Regions from separate parts of the Homo sapiens genome. Here all the other regions are linked to region 2. Evidence: promoter capture Hi-C in human tissues and cell types (Jung and others, 2019). All regions are on one chromosome and are shown on one strand. Each heading gives the region's core, a stretch centred on a gene start or on the middle of the fragment in contact. The rest is flanking DNA. Distances are from core to core; before and after follow the strand shown. Region 1 overlaps UQCRC2 (ubiquinol-cytochrome c reductase core protein 2). Region 2 holds the start of PDZD9 (PDZ domain containing 9). Region 3 overlaps MOSMO (modulator of smoothened).

Region 1 (3,500 bases), core at 492-2,991, 42 kb after region 2:
TATTGAAATTAAGCTAATGAATAACCCGACAATGGCCCCTAAGTATACAAGTGAAAGGAAGAGTCTCATGTCTCTCACTTTAAATCAGAAGCTAGAAAGGATTAAGCTTCTAAGGAAGTCAGGAAGGCATGTTAAAAACGGATACAGGTCAAAAGCTAGGCCTCTTGCACCAGTGCAGTTCTTGAAGAAAACTAATAGTGCTACTCCACTGAACACATAAATGATATGAAAGCAAGACAGACTTATTGCTGATAATACAGAGTTTTACTGGTCTGGATTAGATCAAACTGTATTCCCTTAAGTCAAAGCTTAATCCAGAGCAATGCCCTAACTCTCTTCAATTATATGAAGGCTGAGAGAGGTGAGATGCAGAAGAAAAGTCTGAAGCTAGCCGTGGTTAGTTCATGAGCTTTAAGGAAAGAAGCCATCTTCTTAATATAATAGTACACAGTGAAGCAGCAAATGCTAATATAGAAGCTGCAGCACGTTATCCAGAAGATCTACATAAGATCATCGATGAAGGTGGCTACACTAAACCACAGATTTTCAATGCTGACAAAACAGCCTTACATTGGAAGATGCCGTCCAGGACATTCGTAGCTAGAGAAGTCAATGCCTGGCGTCAAAGCTTCAAACGACAAGCTGACTCTTGTTGGGGACTAATGCAGCTGGTGACTTTAGGATGAGGTCATTTACCATTCTCAAAATCCTAGAGCCCTTAGGAATTATGCTAAATCTACTCTGCCTATGCTCTGTAAATGAACAAAAAAGCCTGGATGATAGTACATCTGTTTATAGCATGGTTGACTGAATATTTTAAGCCCATTGCTCAGAAAAAAGATTCCTTTCAAATTATTACTGCAACAATGCCAAGAGCTCTGATGCAGATGTACAAGGAGATTGACACTGTTTTCATGCCTGCTAATAGAACATCCCTTCTGCACCCCATGGATCAAGGAGTAATTTTTATTTTCAAGTCTTATTATTTAAGAAATACATTTTGTAAGGCTACAGCTACCACAGATAGTGAAGACGCTGATGGATCTGGGCAAAGTAAATTAAAAAACTTTCTGGAAAGAATTCACCATTCTAGACACCATTAAGAACATTTGTGACTCATGGGAGGATGTCAAAGTATCAACATTAACGTGAGTTTGGAAGAAGCCAATTCCAACCCTTATGGATGACTCTGAGAGGCAAGACTTCAGAGGGGGAAGAAACTGCAACTATGGTGGGAGTAGCAAGAGAACTAGAAGTGGGGCCTGAAGATGTGACTGAATGGCTGCAATCTTATGATAAAGCTTGAACAGATGAGGAGATGCTTCTTATGGATGAGCAAACAAAGTGGTTTCTTGAGATAGAATCTGCTCCTGGTTGAAGATGCTGTGAACACTGTCGAAATGATAAAAAAGAATATTACATAATCTTGGTTGATAAAAAAGTGGTAAGGTTTGAGATGACTGACTAATTTTGAAAGAAGTTCTGTGGGTAAACGGCTAAAAACAACATCTCATGCTACAGAGAAGTCTTTCACAAAAGGAAGAGTCAATCAATGCAGCAAACTTCACTGTTGTCTGATTTTAAGAAATTATCAGTCACCACCACCTTCAGCAACCACCACCTTGATCAGTCATCAGCCATTAACGTGGAGGCAAGACCCTCCACCAGCAAAGATTATGACTTGCTGAAGATTCAGATAACTGTTAACATTTTTAAAGCAATAAAATATTTTAAAATTAAGGTTATGTACTTTTTTTCCAAGACAAAATGTCATTGTACACTTAGTAGACCACAGTATAGTGTAAACATAACTTTTATATGCACTGGGAAACCACAAAATTCCTATGACTTGCTTTGCTGCAATATTCCCTTCATTGTGGTGGTCTGGAACAGAACCTGCAACATCTCTGAGGTATGCCTATATATTGCAGATATCTACTCCCAGACAGTTACTTAAATTTTTACTTTAAGACATAAAGATGTTTTACAGTTTGATATACTCAAATTCATCAGTCTTTTCCTTCTTATGTTGCTTAAGAAATCCTCAACCTCCTTGATAACAGAGAAAAGTTCCCTTAAAATTGAATATTTTCTGGCATTTTCACTATTTTCTATTACTTATTTAACAAACCTTAATTTGCCACCAACTGCTTCAATTCCACGGGTTATCTTGAAAGATGAAGCTCCTTTTGTCGTCTTGAAAAAGAAAGAATGATTATCTTTGTAGCTTTTCAATGCCAAGTTTGCCAAACATCACACTATATCAAAATCTGTTGTGAGCAGATTTAAAAAGAATTTTACTAAATTCCTGCATCCTTTTTAGTTAAGAATTATAAAACAAGGCTCAACAAAAAGCTTAAGTATACATTTTTACATTAAGTACATTCATGTAAAATTTCCACTGTCAAATACAAGCTTACTGGATTCATTAGTCTATTCTGAAAGAGACTTGTATATGGGAAAAAAAGAGTTAATTTTCTTTCAATTTGCGGCACTTCCTGTTAAAAATTTGTTTACTGATTTCTTATGCTCTAACATCAACATTCATATGGATACTAATTTAGTGCTTCTCTGTGGCAAATATCTTGTGGTTTCTCATTTTACATTAGGGGACAGTACTGGGTTTAACAGTGTTCCCCCCCAAATTTATGTCCAGCCAGAATATTTGCATGTTACTTTATTTGGTAATAAGGTCTCTGCAGATTTAAGTACTTAAGATGACATCATATTGAATTATAGTGGGCACTAAATCTAATGTAACTGGTATCCTTATCAGGAGGAAATGTGGACACAGACAGAAGGAAGGCCATGTGACAACAAAGGCAGAGACTGCAGTGATGCAGTTGCAGGTCAAGGAACATGAAGGGTTGTGGGCAACTGCTGGAAGCTAGGAACAGGCAGGGGAGGATTTGTGCCTTCCTAGAACCTTTAGAGGGATCACAGCCCTGCTGATATCTTGGCTTGGCTTAGACACCTTGACTTGGACTTCTAGCCTCTAGAACTGTAACAGGATAAACTTATTTGGTTTAAGCTACCCAGTCCGTGGTAATTTGTTATGGCAGGTCAAGGAATCAAAATATAAAGACATTGATCTTAGTTTTTCTTTTTCACAGGACCAAGATACCACAGCATTTCCAAACACTTGAGGAAGTGAAGATACTCACCAGACTGGATGTAAGACGCAGCAAATGGGTGGTTCCTAAATTGCTGAAGTCCTCATATCTACTGCCTGCTTTAATGAACAAACCAATTCTTGATACAGGAGAATAGTTTTCCAAAGAAGCAATCACCAAGCCATTTGGTAACTTGGTAAACTGTATTTAAAATAAAGTAGAGATATAATGAATGTCTTCGTATTACCAAGGAGAGTAAGGCATGTATAGCTTCCAGCGAGCAAGTTAGTGGGACTAACCTCAAGGTCCTGAGGTTGTGGCGGTGCTCCTGCAGGCGCAGCTGTGGCTTTAACTTTGGGGGCAACTTTGAGGGAATAAAATCTCTAA
Region 2 (3,347 bases), core at 642-3,141:
TAGAATTAAGTTGGTATCTATGTAGACCCCTGCCAGACTGTTTGGAAGAGGAAAGGTGACCTGTCACAAGAAGTCACCCACAGGAGACTTGAGGTGGAGAATAGCCCTTTGTACTGGTCTCTACGACACAGGTTTTATCTAATGAGAAATCTGTCCTGGCGCTCACGCCTGTAATCCCAGCACTTTGGGAGGCCAAGGCGGGTGGATCACCCTGAGCTCAGGAGTTGGAGACCAGTCTGGCCAACATGGCAAAACCCTGTCTCTACTAAAAATACAAAAATTAGCTGGGCGTGGTGACACAGGCTTGTGGTCCCAGCTACTCTGGTGGCTGAGGTGGAAGGATCGCTTGGGCCTGGAAGGCGGAGGTTGCAGTGAGCTGAGATTTTGTCACTGCACTCCAGCCTGGGTGACAGAATGAGACCCCATCTCAAAAAAAAAAAAAAAAAAAAGGAACCTAAAGAGGAATCTGCCCTGGCTTATTGTCTGTGTAGAGCCACAGAAACAACAGAATAAGCTTGGACATAACCAGATCTACCATGGAAATCTTTGCACAGTGCCTGACACCTAATAGGTGGTTAATGACTGTTTGTTGAAGGGATGGGGCAAGGTGCTTAGCCTCTCAGTTTCATCAGACCGGGGATAACACCAGGGCCTACCTCATTAGGTTTTCTCTTTCTTCTAGAATTTACTAACTCATTTATTCATTTTTATTTTTTGAGACAGGATCTTGCTCCATCACCCAGGCTGGAAGGTGGTGACTCAATCATAGCTCACTGCAGCCTTGAATCCTGGGCTCAAGTGATCCTCCCATCTCAGCCTCCTGAGTAGCTAGGACTACAGATGTGCACCACCATGCCCAGCTAATTTTTAAATTTTTTTTATAGAGAAAGGGTCTCACTATGTTGCCCAGGCTGATCTCAAACTCCTGGGCTCAAGCAGTCCTCCTGCCTCAGTCTCCTGAGTACCTAGGATTACAGGTGTTAGACACCACACCTGGCCTAGAATTTATTTTTAATAATTTATATTTTCCTAAAATTGTCCACTTCATCTGTTTTTTAAGTACAGGTTTCAAGAGGATAGAGCCTGTGTTTCTGTGTTTGTCTTGCTTACTGTTGTGTCCCCAGTATCAGTAAATGACAGAACAGCTCCCTGTAAATACTTGTTGTATGAGTGAATGTGTGTGGGAGGAAGAATTATCTTGGAAAAAAGAAGGAAGCATTAATAGTGCCTCTCCTAATAGTGACTCATTTTTTTTTAGGCCACCCTGGGGCCTTTTCTTATTCAAAACATTCATGAAAAAAAGTGCAGTTCCAAAGCATTGGAGCTACTGATGTAACAATTTTTTTAAAATACCATTATTAGAAGTGCAGCGGGGGATTCTCTGATCTTCTAGGTATTCTGTGATCTCCTGTGATCTTCTGGCTGTGATCTTCCTCTGCAGACCACCTCACATCTTTGAGACACCCTCCTCTGTGCCTTCTCCCCCTCCCTATTTCTTAGGTTCACCAAGAATGAATGAAGAAGCCAAGCGCGGTGGCTCATGCCTGTAATCCCAGCACTTTGGGAGGCTGAGGCGGGCAGATCGCTTGAGCCCATAGTGCAACAGTTGTGTTGAGCCTGAGCAACATAGTGAGACCCCCACCCCCTGCCCGTCTCTTAAAAAAAGAAAAAGAAAAGAAGGAATGAAGAAACCACCGTGGGTCAGGCACGGTGCTAACCTCTGCAGAAGTTTCCATACAGTACAATGGTGTGCAATGCCCACGCCACGTTTTGCAGGGTCCACGGGAAGCCTTGCGGCGACCTCACTGCCGCCCAATTTCTGGGCAGTGGCGGCGCAGCGCCCCCTGGCGGCCATCCCGAGGGCAGTGCCCGCGGGCAAGGTTCGAAACTGTTGGCATTGGGACTGACTCCAGCCTCTGCTCCGGGAGGCCCTCCCGGGCTGCCTGACCTCCCGGGACCATGCAGAAGGCCTCCCACAAAAACAAAAAAGGTAACTGGGGAGAAGGAAGCGGGTGAAGAAGCCCTGGGGACCAAGCCTTCGTCAATGTTCCTCCTCTGTAAAATGGCAACGGTGCACTCTTGGCCTGGGAGATAACCTCTCTCCATCGTTGTTGTTATCATCATCATCATTATCATCATCATCATCATCATCATCATCATCATCATCATCATCATCATCATTTGAGAAGGAGTCTTGCTTTGTCCCCCAGGCTGGAGTGCAGTGGCGCGATCTCAGCTCACTGCAACCTCTGCCTCCCAGGCTCAAGTGATTCCTCTGCCTTAGCCTCCCGAGTAGCTGGGATTACAGGTGCCTGCCACCATGCCCAGCTAATTTTTTATTTTTAGTAGAGATGGGATTTCACCATGTTGGCCAGGCTGGTCTCAAACTCCTGACCTCAAGTGATCCGCCCGCCTTGGCCATCGTTATTTTTATCAAGGTATAATTTCCATGCAGTAAGATCCCCCCTTTTAAAAGTACAGCTACCGTTTTGACAAGCTATACCCACGTTGAACCACCCCCTCCATCAAGATAGGGAACAGTTCCACCACTCCCTAAAATTACTTTGCAATGCCCAGTTGCAGCCAAACCCCACCCCACTGCAGCTCCTCACACCCCCATCTGTTTTTTACAGCGTTTTTTTTTTTTTGCCTTTTCCATGGAGAACATCATAAAAATGAAATCACATAGTAAGGAGCCTTTAAAAAATTATACCAATGTAAATAGGGACTTTGGCCCTTTCATTTTTATTAAAAGGGCACATAAATCTTAAAATAGCATATGGGTCACTGTATTTTATTTTTAGAGACAGAGTCTTGTTCTGTCGCTCAGGCTGGAGTGCAGTGGTATGCTCCTGGCTCACTGCAGCCTCCAATTCTTGGGCTCAAGCAATCCTCCTGCATCAGCCTCCCATAGCTGGGACTGTAGGCATGCACCACCACATTCAGCTAATTTTTTTTTTTTTTTTGAGACAGAGTCTTGCTCTGTGACCCAGGCTAGAGTGCAGCGGCATGATCTTGGCTTACTGCAACCCCCGCCTTCCAGGCGGGTTCAAGCGATTCTTGCCCCTCAGCCTCCAGAGTAGCTTGGATTACAGGCGTGAACCACCACGCCTGGCTGATTTTTGTGTTTTCAGTAGCAACGGTGTTTCACCATGCTGGCCAGGCTGGTCTCGAACTCCTGACCCCAAGTGATCCGCCCACCCTCGGCCTCCCAAAGTGCTGGGATTACAGGTGTGAGCCACCATGCCCAGCCTAAATAGAAGAGATGAGGTGTCACTATGTTGCCCAGGCTCTAATCACTTTATACTTCTGCTAGCCCCCAGGTGGGCTTACTGAAGGATGCAGAC
Region 3 (3,249 bases), core at 232-2,731, 37 kb before region 2:
AGATCCAATGCCTTCCATGTGCTAGGCACATTCTGGGTGCTGAGATATAGCAGTAGTAAGACAGATAATATTTCTTTTCTCATGAAGCATATATTCTAGTGGAGGGAGCCAGTAAAAAAGTGAACATATTAATAAGCAAGGTAATTGCAGTCATAAATGCCATAAGAAAAATCATACAGGGTAAGGCATTAGATAGGAGGAGGGAGTGCTGCTATCTTAGATTCAGGGTGGTTAGGGAAGGCCTGTCTGAAAAGGAGATATCCAGCTGAGACATAGATCCTACCACACTACTTATAAATGCATATTTCTAAAATACCACTTTTATGTTATCTCCTGGCTCATGAATTCTTTTTTTGTAAGAGACAAGGACTCATTATGTTGGCCAGGCTGGTCTCGAACTCCTGGCCTCAAGCAATCCTCCCACCTTGGCCCCCCAAAGTGCTAGGACATGTATGAGCCACCATGCCCAGCCTGCTCATGAACTTTTAAAGATACCCTACTAATGATAAGACAAAGGCCAAAATTCCAAACCTAACTTTCCAACCTAATTTTCTAAAAAATTCCTTACAGATTCTGCTTCAACTAGCATTTACTGAGTTGTTAAAGGCTGTATCAGGCGTAGAGCTTGACATCTTTTCCTCAAAATATACCCAGCTGAAAATCCCTAACAAGTATTATAATTTCCTTTTTATAGATAAAAAGGAAAGAAACTTGCCTAAGGTCACCTAGCTTATAAGTGACAGAATTGGGTCACAAATAATGTTAAAAACTGCTACTTATTGACATGTATCATGTATCCCAAACTATGCGTTAAGGAGTTCACTTGTCCATTTAATTCCCATCACTGAGAACAGATTATTATCATTAGAAAACTGATATGATTCAGTATGATTATTGTTAGGAAACTGAAGCTTAGAGAAGGTTGAATAATCTGCCTGAATAGATGATTATGATTAGAAAACTGATATGATTCAGTATGATTATTAGGAAACTGAAGCTGAGAGAAGGTTAAGTAATCTGCCTAACTCACTAAGCAGTCAAGATTAGACCTGAGACCTGACTTCAATGTCTATTACAGAGCACTATGCTTAGTTCATTCATTGCTTTCTCCCATGTCATTGCTTTCTCCCATGTCAGTTTTGGATGAACACAATGGTCTCCTTTCCCACATCTCTACCCAGACTACTAAACTCTGCTGGATAAAAGTACATAACTGTAAGATTGGCATCATTAAAAAATTTATGCTTTATGGACCCAACTAGCCCCTCAATACAACCCAGAAATCTGTTTTTTTAGCTGGCTCTCTCTTATTCTGTACAGTAGCTTTTCAACCATTTTTAAAATATATACTCTTTTCAAACTTCCTACCAGTATTATCACTCCCATTTCACTCCTAGCAAGTGACCCTTCTTGTTATCTCTATAAGTCACAGAGGTGGACTCCCTCAATTTCCTACCACCATTATCTGTAACCTAACTTCATCTTCATTGGTCCTCACTTCCTTTCCTCATGTCACAAAGTGTTTCTTGTCTCCTAAAATCTATCCCTCTGTTATGCTTTACCACTCTGGTACTATTAGGGTCCTTGATCTATCAACTTTGGTGCATTATCAATCCCTCCCTCTCTGCTGGCTCCTTCTCATTACGATGGATGTTGACTAACCTCACTATCCCTTGCACAGGCAAAATTCCATCTTCACTGTTGTCTTACTCTCCCTACTAGTTATTTTGCAACCCACTGTGAATGAGGCTCCTACTTTACCACTTCTCTGAAACGTCTCTCTCCAAGGCTATTAACAATCTCTTTAAGACTAATGTACTTTTCAATTTCATCTTGTTATACTGTGAAATAAATATTTGATTTTCATCAGGCTTCCCAACACAGCCCCTGAGATCCCTGGGATTTCCAGAGTGATGAGAGTTTCTTTTGTAGCTAATGAGATGGCTGGTGGCTGGCAGCCCCTATGTAGCTTCAGGATGGGGGCTGGTCATGGGAAAGATCAAGGCATGATTAGAAGACTGGGACTTTCAGTCCCACCTTGCCAACATCCAGGTAAGGGAGAGGGGCTAAAGGTTGAATTGCTCGTCAATGGCCAAGGATTTAATCAATCATGCCTATGTAATGAAGCTTCCACAAGACCCCAAAAGGATTGGGCTCAAAGAGCTTCTGGGTAGCTAAACACATGGAGCTTCCTGGAGGGTGGTATGCCAGGAGAGGGCACGGAAGCTTCCCGCCCCTTCCCACATGCCTTGCCCTATTCATCTCTTCATCTGTATTCTTTGTAGTATCCTTCATAATAAACCAGTAAAGGTAAGTAAGTATTTCCCTGAGTTCTGTGAGCTGTCCCAGCAAAGTAGTTGAAACTGAGGAGGAGGTGATGGGAAAGTTGATTTCTAACCAGTTGATCAGAAGCACAGGTAAAAACAACCCGAGGCTTGCAACTGGCTTAGGATTGGGGGCAGCTTGTAGGTTTGACCCCTCAATCTATGGGATCTATATGCCAGGTAGATGGCAACAGAACTGAGTTGAATTACAGGACACCCAGCTGATACTTGCCGTAGAATTGCTTGGTGAGTGCAGGAAAAACACACACTTGGTCACAGAAGTTTTCCGTGTTGTGAGAGCATAGTTGGAGAAACTGATTTCATACCTTAATTCCTTTTTGGCCAAGACTGCCAACCACTTCTTTCTTCTTGCAAATACATTTTCCCGTGGCTTCTATAGTATCAAATTTTTGTTTCGTTTTCCTTTTTAGAGACCAAGTCTCATTCTGTCACCCAGACTGGAGTGCAGTGGTGTAGTCCATAGCTCACTGCAACCTTGAACACCTGGGTTCAAGTGATCCTCCCACCTCAGCCTTTCCAGTAGCTAGGACTATAGGCACGAGCCAACATGCCTGGCTGGTTTTCCTCTTGAGTCTAGCTTTTTCTCAGCATCCTTAAAATGCTGGTGACCTTCAGGGTTCTTTCCTGGGTTCTCTTGTTTCTCCTTACTCTTCTTACTCTCCCTGGAAAATATTCCTACAATAGCTTCCAAAATCAGTCATAGGCTGATGACTTTTCATTCTGTATCTCCAATCCTAGTCTGACTTATGAGTTTCACCTGCCCACTAGGCAGATTCTCTGGTTTGACAACCTCTTCAAATTCAAAATATTAAATTCAGGATTCATATTAAAATAGCCTCCTACTGCCCTTACAATGGGGTCCAAATTCTTAACACAGTGTAAAAGGCCCTTCAGAAAACAATTT

Evidence for each region. Contacts are between HindIII fragments. The study calls those that stand out against the background at their distance.
Region 1: a contact is called between a fragment that was not itself captured here and the fragment with the promoter of PDZD9 in region 2, in 3 of the 25 tissues and cell types used here (dorsolateral prefrontal cortex, lymphoblastoid cells and stomach).
Region 3: a fragment that was not itself captured here is called in contact with the fragment with the promoter of PDZD9 in region 2 in 3 of the 25 tissues and cell types used here (lymphoblastoid cells, mesendoderm cells and small bowel).

The regions. Positions count from the first base shown.
Region 1 is chr16:21,957,231-21,960,730 of GRCh38, reverse strand. UQCRC2 (ubiquinol-cytochrome c reductase core protein 2) reads right to left here. Exons shown (of 14, transcript NM_003366.4): 2 at 3,413-3,496; 3 at 3,165-3,314; 4 at 2,132-2,196. It also overlaps a transcript of PDZD9 not described here. Among named protein-coding and RNA genes, the nearest start is that of UQCRC2, 5.6 kb to the right of the region's middle. The HindIII fragment of the contact is 3,067 bases long and covers 208-3,274 here.
Region 2 is chr16:21,999,660-22,003,006 of GRCh38, reverse strand. PDZD9 (PDZ domain containing 9) reads left to right here and starts at 1,891. Exons shown (of 4, transcript NM_001363519.1): 1 at 1,891-1,990. The coding sequence starts at 1,960. RefSeq lists an enhancer at 1,696-1,745. The HindIII fragment of the contact is 5,621 bases long and covers 1-2,825 here.
Region 3 is chr16:22,036,776-22,040,024 of GRCh38, reverse strand. All of the region lies in intron 1 of MOSMO (modulator of smoothened), which reads right to left. Among named protein-coding and RNA genes, the nearest start is that of MOSMO, 30 kb to the right of the region's middle. The HindIII fragment of the contact is 3,291 bases long and covers 1-3,126 here.